Regions from separate parts of the Homo sapiens genome. Here region 2 is linked to region 1. The links are contacts of gene promoters, found by promoter capture Hi-C in blood cells and fetal thymus (Javierre and others, 2016). All regions are on one chromosome and are shown on one strand. Each heading gives the region's core, a stretch centred on a gene start or on the middle of the fragment in contact. The rest is flanking DNA. Distances are from core to core; before and after follow the strand shown. Region 1 holds the start of DRC11L (dynein regulatory complex subunit 11 like). Region 2 has its middle 52 kb from the start of KCNH2.

Evidence for each region. The method cuts DNA at HindIII sites, captures the fragments that hold promoters and counts their contacts. A CHiCAGO score of 5 or more calls a contact.
Region 2: a fragment that was not itself captured here is called in contact with the fragment with the promoter of DRC11L in region 1 in 1 of 17 cell types (M1 macrophages); the score reaches 6.3 in M1 macrophages.

The regions. Positions count from the first base shown.
Region 1 is chr7:151,203,179-151,207,133 of GRCh38, reverse strand. It overlaps DRC11L (dynein regulatory complex subunit 11 like), which reads left to right and starts at 1,638. Exons shown (of 19, transcript NM_001304419.2): 1 at 1,638-1,690; 2 at 2,298-2,625; 3 at 3,620-3,739. The coding sequence starts at 1,680. The HindIII fragment of the contact is 18,375 bases long and covers 1,429-3,955 here.
Region 2 is chr7:150,924,560-150,928,514 of GRCh38, reverse strand. No RefSeq gene overlaps it. Among named protein-coding and RNA genes, the nearest start is that of KCNH2, 52 kb to the left of the region's middle. The HindIII fragment of the contact is 478 bases long and covers 1,660-2,137 here.

The sequences.
Region 1 (3,955 bases), core at 389-2,888:
AAACCTCCAATCCTTTGTGCCGTTTGTAATTGGACAGACCTGGCTTGTGGTCTCCTTCATCTCCACATATTGAAAAGGCATCGCCTTGTAGTAATAGCTGACGTTCAGCGGCAGCTACCTAGGTCACGTGTATTTTCTCATACCTCGAGCCTCACCTTGAGGTTCTGTGAGCTGAGGACTAATGATCCACGTTTACATTCACAGTTAGCAAGAGGCAGGCCCAGGAGATCTGGCCCCAAAGTCTCACTCCTGCCCACTCTGCCCTGTGTTCACACCTTGCCCTACCAGGCATGACCCGGGCCAGCAGGAGCCAAAGCACCTGGGAGCTTGTTAGAAAGGCAGGCTCTTGGGTCCCCCCTCAGATCTGGAGCAGAATCTGTTTATCTATCTATCTATCTATCTATCTATCTATCTTTGAGACAGAGTTTCGCTTTGTTGTCCAGGCTGGAGTGCAGTGGTGCCATCTCTGCTCACTGCAACCTCTCCCCATCCTAGGTTCAAGCGGTTGTCCTGCCTCAGCCTCCCGAGTAGCTGGGATTACAGGCATGTGCCACCAGGCCTGGCTAATTTTTATATTTTTAGTAGAGATGGGGTTTCACCATGTTGGCCAGGCTGGTCTTGAACTCCCAACCTCAGGAGATCCGCCTGCCCTGGCCTCCCAAAGTGCTGCGATTACAGGCATGAGCCACTGCGCCCAGCCTGGAATCTGCATTTTAATGAGACCCTCAGGTAGCTCATAGGCACCTTCGAGTTCCTCCTCTTTGCTCCTCCTTGCCGCTATCTCCCTTCTGTCCGTTTCCCTGGCCCTGTTCCTCTTAGATTTACTTATTCATAAGCCTCGACGTGACACTGAGCCAAAAAGCTCACCCCAGCTGACCAGCCTCAGGCTGCTAGTGGTATAATATTTTGTCTTTTTGGAAAAATTATCTCCTGAACTTGTAGCAGTGACGGGAGGTGGTACCCACAGGTGACCAAGTAAGCCCCAAGCATGCAGAACAGCATCCACTATACTTTCTAGCATGATGCTTCACACGGGTCTGGCTCATGGGAATGGTGTGAACTCTTGGCAGGCCCCAGGGAGGAAAGCATGGTTATGCTCACTTTCACCCAAGGGGGCAACTGGGACTTCAGGGCCTTCTGACTCCAAATCAGTGCCTTTCCCCTCCACCACATGGGCTTCCCCGTGCTGTCATCCAGAGAGTGAAGGAGGGCTGTGGGGCTCAGGAGGCGGGGGCTGAGAGAAGGAACAGAGGCCGCTGAGAGTGAGAAGCTGCGGTGATGCCTTGTTAGGGGGTAATGTCTTTAGGACAGATGTATCCAGAGCGCCAAAGCTTTCAGGGGACTTCAAATAGAAACTTATTTTACTTGTTCCTTACAAGAAAAATGGCCAAAGTTGGACAACATGTTCTGCCCTAAGCTTCCAAAGCTTGCTCTGCGGGAGCCTGCAGCCACCCACCCACAGTCCCTTCAGCGCGCTGCTCCCAGGACGTCCTCCGAGATAAATGTCCCCGATTCTGCACCCACCAGCCCCCTCGCCTCAGCCCTAGAACACTGGTACAATGGGTCAGAACTCTTAAAAACAGGCTGTTCTGCCCTGTGGCCCTGGAAGTCAGGGAGCCACAGAGGTTCTGTGAATTCCACCACCAGCAAACAAGGGGCAGCGTGGAGGAGTGGACACAATGTCTGAGGGGTGAGTGAGGGGCTGGAGTGGGGCTCCCAGGGCAGAGACAGCAAAGGGCAGAGCATCTCCTTAGTCCTGAGAGGCAGGGGCAGAGTGGCGGTTTGGGCACTGGGCCACCCCAGCTGCTGCTGCTGCCCTGGCAGCTTTCACTGTGGAAACTTCCCTCCGATGGTTAATTCCAGAACCAGGGCTCTGCTTGGGGAAGGGTCCCTCCTCCACATTCATCCCTCACCCCCACTTCCCATCCACCAGCCCAGATCACTGCAGCATCCGTGGGCTGCCCCACACCTGGAGGGCCCCACTGCCCCTGACTCCCAAAGACCCCTTCCTTACCAGAGCCCCAAGCCTGGGCTGGCTTTCCCCCAAACCCCCAAAGGTCATGCCCATTCTCTCTGCTAATCCTACAGCGGAGCCCAATCCCACACTCTCCCTAAGACCAGGTCGGTGTCCACTCATTGCCCTGCGGGCTCCTTACCTCATTGAAGTCCATTTAGGAGCCATGAGTGACATCACACCTTCTGGTACCCCGAGCCCACACTCCTCAAAAGGCCAGGCTGCTCCGTCTCCCCACTCCTCCGTGGCTCAGAGCACGCGGCGCCCGCCACCCTCTCCCCAGAGCTTACCAGCGCCTCTGGGAGTCCTCCCACGCGACCCTGCAGGAGCTGCTGGACCAAGAGCAGCTTCTGCTCGAACCTGCGCCCGACCGGGAGCGGCAGTCCTTCCAGTACAGGCTCGCATCGCTCTACCTGCACTACCTGGGGCTGCTGCGCCGCTTCGACACCGTCTATGACCAGATGGTGCAGCCGCAGAAGCGGCGGCTGCTGCGACGCCTGCTGGACGGCGTGGCGGGCCGCGTGCTGGAGCTCAAGGACGAGCTGGTGCGCGCCGACCTGTGTGAGAACCACTGCCTGGACCGCGTGCTGCAGGATTTCAAGCTCACCCCAGTACGTGTGCGCAGCCGCGAAGCCACGCCCCCAGCCAGCTAGCGGGAGGGGAGAGGTGGGGTGGGACCGGCCTTGACCACCTGGGACACAGAGCCACGCCCTGGCCAGCTTGGGGTCGGGTGGGGTAGGGATGGGGCCGACCACCCCTGCCTACCCGCCACCCCACGGATATCCCTGGTGTTGGGACAACTGCTAGGAAAGGAAGGAGGGCAGAGAAGATCAGAGGATGGGGTTTGGCCTTGTAGGAAGGGCTTCAGGAACCTTGGCGGTGGGGGGTGTGCATGGAGGTACTTAGAGGTTGGATGGAGTCAGGGTGAGGTCCCCTGCATGACTGGGAAGACCCACGAACCGCAGGGAATTGGTGAGGAGAGTCCTTTAGAGCCTCCTCAAAGTGTGGTCCCTGGACCAGCAGCATTGACATCACAAATGAGAAACTCTGAATCCCTAACTCACTAAATCTGCACCTGCATTTTTATCAAGACCCTCCAGTGATCTGTGTGCACGGGCAAGTTCTAGAAGGCTGTTCTAGAGCACAGAGCTTCTGCGGCGCCTCCAGTCCGGCTCAGGGTTCAGTAACTGCTTCATATCCAAGACTATCTCAAAGTTTCCCCAACCAGCTGCAGCAGTGCACTTGGTCGGGGGTGGGGGCGCAGGGAAGATTCCCCAGGTCCTGTCATTCTGATGTAGTAGTCTGAGGAGGACCTAGGAATCTGCATTTAAGAGCTTCCCAGTTGATTGTGATGCACAACCAGGTCTGAGACCACTGCCACCTACCATGAGCCTCCAGAATTCAACTCCAGCCAGAGGATGGGGGCAGAGGAAGAGAGGAGTGGCTCTTGGGGGTATCTGCCCCATTACCCTTTAAGTTTAGTCAGGACTCTAAAATGGAGGAAAACAGTGCTGGGGGTGTGTAAGCCCCTAAAAATGGTAACGGATCGGCCAGATGGCTCAGACTTTTGATTCCTGACCCTCCTCCCCCAACATTGCTCCAAAGGCTGACCTGGAGGTTCCAATCCCCAAATACTTCCTGCTGGAGCAGTCCACCACTGTGCGGGAGCGAGGGCTGATACTGGCCGAGATCCTGTCCAGACTGGAGCCAGTGTCCTCCCAGAAGGTAAACGGGGGTGACACCCTCCCAGACTCTTCCATACCCCATCTCCTGAAAGACTCCAGAATGCAGAGAGGCCCCTCCCTGCTCTCTACCAGAGTGCCCTTTAGGTAATCCCTGGCCTCCTTCAAGGCTGTTCTTCTGCTGATGGTAACCCTCCAACGCCAAGACAAGACTTGGCCTCCCAGATACTCTGGGAGGATGGTGTCCTGGTGCATCCTT
Region 2 (3,955 bases), core at 649-3,148, 280 kb after region 1:
TATGCCTGTCTACTCCCCTCCTCTCCCATAGATAACTGTTAAGGTATTTGTGTTTGTCCTTTCAACATTTTTTAAAATAAGCAAGTGTATGTATGTATGCCTCTAGTTTCCCTACTTGTGTTTTTTAGATGAATGAAATGTCCATACGTACTTTTTTCTTCCTTGCTTGATCCACTTAGTATCTGGAGAGGAGTCCACATCAGTAAGAAGAGACACGCCTCATTCCCTCACAGCTGTGTAGTATGTCATCATTTGGATATAGCTGACTCAAACGGTCCCCTGGTGGTTGCCATTTGTTTCCAGTCCTTTGTTGTTATTACAAAATTCTGCTACAATACATAGTCTTGTGCATACATCCTTTCATATTTTTGCTACTATATCTTTGGGAGGAATTCCAAGATTTGCTGGGTCAAAGGTCAATGCATATGTAATTTTGTAAGATATTGCTAAAGTTCCCACCAGCAACGTGGGAATACTTCTTTCTTTAACCTCGCCAACAGACTATGCTGTCACACTTTTGGATCTTTGCCCAATTTGATAGATGAGAAATGGTATCTGTGTCTTTTTAATTTATATATTTCCATCACAGGTTGAATTCCCTGGGAGCAGACTCTGAGACAGAGACTGGAAGGAGGGAGAAGAGGGAGGACTGGGTAGAGGGACAAGTCCGCCTGTGACTCAACCTCAACAGAGAGCCCAGCTGAGCCCACAGTGACCTCTAGGGCTGGCAGGGCCCTTCAGAGAGGCTGCGTAGGAATGATGGGCCTGGCTGTTCTATCCCCGTGTTAATCCATCACTGAGTGTGGGCTGCTCCGGAAGGAGGTGTGACCTTTGGTGAGGCAGTTTTTTTCCTGCCAAGGCAAATCCATGGGAGGGCGGACAGCAGAGGGCCATCCTCTGGTGGCACTTTCCATCATAGGTAGGGATTATGACATTTATTTCAGAAAGACAATCTGGGTGACACATCACGGCATCCACCCTCATTGCTTAATTTACCTATAATATCTACTTTAATGATTTTGTTTTCTACATACTATCTATCTATCTATCATCTATCTAATCTATCTATGTATCTATCATCTATCAATTATCTACCTATCATCTATCAATCACCTTTCTATCTCTGTTATCTATGTATCTATGTATCTATCTATCTATCTTATATCTATCAATCATCCATCATCTATCAATTTTCTTTGTATCTATCAATCAATCATCCATCTATCTCTCTCATCTCTCTCTTCTATCTATCTATCTATCTATCTATCTATCTATCTATCTATCTATCTATCTATCATCTATCTATCTCTATCATCTATTTATCTATTTATCTAGTTGATTTGTCTTGGATTGAGACAGGTGTGTTAAATATTCTTATTTTTTTTTAAAACAACATGTTTCTGTATATTTCTCCTGTCATCTCTTATATTTTCTGCTTCATGACAGTTGTTGCTAAGCCACTGCCATATAAGTGGCACCTACTGTTAGATCTCCATCATGATTGCAGACTTTGGGATTCTGTAGCCTCCTTCTGTGTCTCATTTAATGCTCTCTGGTCTGAATCCTGCCTTGTTGGATATCAAGATGGTGACTCATAATTTCTTTTAATTTTTATTTGCCTGTTGTATCTTTCAATTATACTGAACATTTTGATAAGCTTTTATTTTTAAACTTTTGCAATCTCTTTGTATTAGTATTGCCTCTGATATATAGTATAATATTGGATTTTTCCTTTTTTGCCAATATGGATACCTTTTTCTTCTAACAGCTGAGTTAAGCCCCATTATATTGATTGATCTGATCTATGTGTTTGACCCCAGTTGTCACATTGTTTTATTATACATATCATTGTATGCACATATCTATGTCTATATCGATATATCAATGTGATCAATTTTTTTAGCTTTCTTTTGGTATTTAGAAGGTTTGAATTTTTGTTCTAATAAATACCTTTATTCTAATACCTTTATATGACACTTTTAGCTTCCTAGTTGTGGTTATTTTGTATTAGTTCCCTACTTCAAGCAAGATTAAAATTGGTTAGTAATATCTTCTCCCTCCCTTGTCTGCTCCAGCATATATTCTGAAGCGATACTCTTTGAATTTCTGTTTCTACCTATAAGGCAACCAGCAAGCTTGTTTTACTTTTTATCTACTTTCCCCACTCTCTCCCCTGTTTTCTTTTTCTCAAGGGATGCGGTCTCTCTCTGTCATCCAGGCTGGAGTGCAGTCGTGTGATCAGAACTCACTGTGGCCTCGAATTCTTGGGTTTATGTGATCCTCCTGCCTCAGCCTCCCGAGTAGCTGGGGACACAGGTGCCACCACCATGCTGGGCTCCCTCCTGGATTTTTGACTGTTGTAATCTATCTACAGTGTCAGAACACAGCCCTCACCTTCTACATGACCGCCCTTATAATTATCGTTTCATCTTGGCACTGAACTTACAGCCAGTCCTTGTATGAACGGCTTTCCAGTCATTTGTGTTGTTTGAAGCTTGTTCTTTAGTGGATTCTTCAGTAAAAGTGCATGAGAGTGACACTCCCTGAGTTCTCCAACATTTGCAGACATAACTAAGATCTGTCAATAGCCTTTCCACTTAAAGGTTGTCTTGGCTCACATTGTCTTTCCTTGAGTACTTAAAATATTTTACTTCACTGTCTTCTGGCATAAAGCATGGCCATTGAAAAATCTAAATGCAACCTAATCTTTCCTCCACTTCCTTCCATAAGTAACTTGGTCTGTTAAACTGGACATCCAAAGATTTTTTTCTTTTCAAAGTGTGTAGTCCCACAAGCATATGTCCCTGTTGGTGATCCTGTGACGACTTTCCTATTGTACAATATGCTTCCATATCCATTACAGTATGCAGTTTTAAGTATCTTTATTTCAGGAAAATTCTAAATTTAGTTTTCCATATTATTCTGTTCTGTGGCTTTTGTTTTCTTCTTGGGGATTTTTATTATATGAATACTTCATCTTCTTAGTCCACCTCCTGTTACTTTCTCTTGTATTCTTTTCATTGCCTTGTTCATACCTTTTAACTAAAACTTTTTTCTTTTTTCATCCTTTATTTCATTTAAGACATTATCCACTGTGTCTATTTGCACCGACAGTTCTTCTAACTTAGACTTCATTTCTAAAATAATTTTTATTTCACATCTGAGTCTCTTCTGTCTTTTCATACTATTGTTTTATTTCCTTATTTTGGATCTTTTCTACTTCTGACTCATGCTGGTCTTCATAGCATCCATCACTTTGTGTATTTTTGTTCATTTTGAACTATGAAGGGCCAGTGTTGGTTTGTGCTTTGGCCAAGTCATTCTGGTTGGTGAGCCTTCATTGTCTGCAGGATAGTATTTGGCTCCTCATCGCTTTTTTCTCAAATTAACTTAGAATGATATTTATGTGAAATTATTTCCCACTGCTCATGCTTAAGTAAAATGAATTTTCTGTACTTTTAGGGAAGAAGGTTGGGCTAGGATAACTTTTTTTGGACTTTATGACTCTAGAGTCTGATTTCTGTTCTTTCACTCGGGGTTAGAAGATACGAACCCCACATTCTGAGCACTCTCTCTCCTTTGATCTCCTCCTCACTTTAAACTGGGCCTTGTCTTCTCTTTGTCCCCATTGACCCCAACCCAATCAATTCACATTCTTTTCTCAGCAGTTTTTCCCCAGTGCAAGATTTGGACTCAGAAGGCAGCTGTGGTGTGTCAGTGTGCTGAATTCCCAGGGTCCAGGTCACTCCAGCACAGTTCCATCTTACTGAGGTCCCCTTGTTCTCACCTCTGACTCGGCACCTACACACCCCTTGCCCGGTGCTGGCAGCTGCGCTCCGACAGGCCTGCAGGGAGTCCCTGGACACGCACCAGACGGGCTGTGCTGTTATGATCCCCGGGCCCAGCAGAGGCCCAGCTGTTTTTCCTGCTCTTCCTCTTTCCTACACAACTGTTT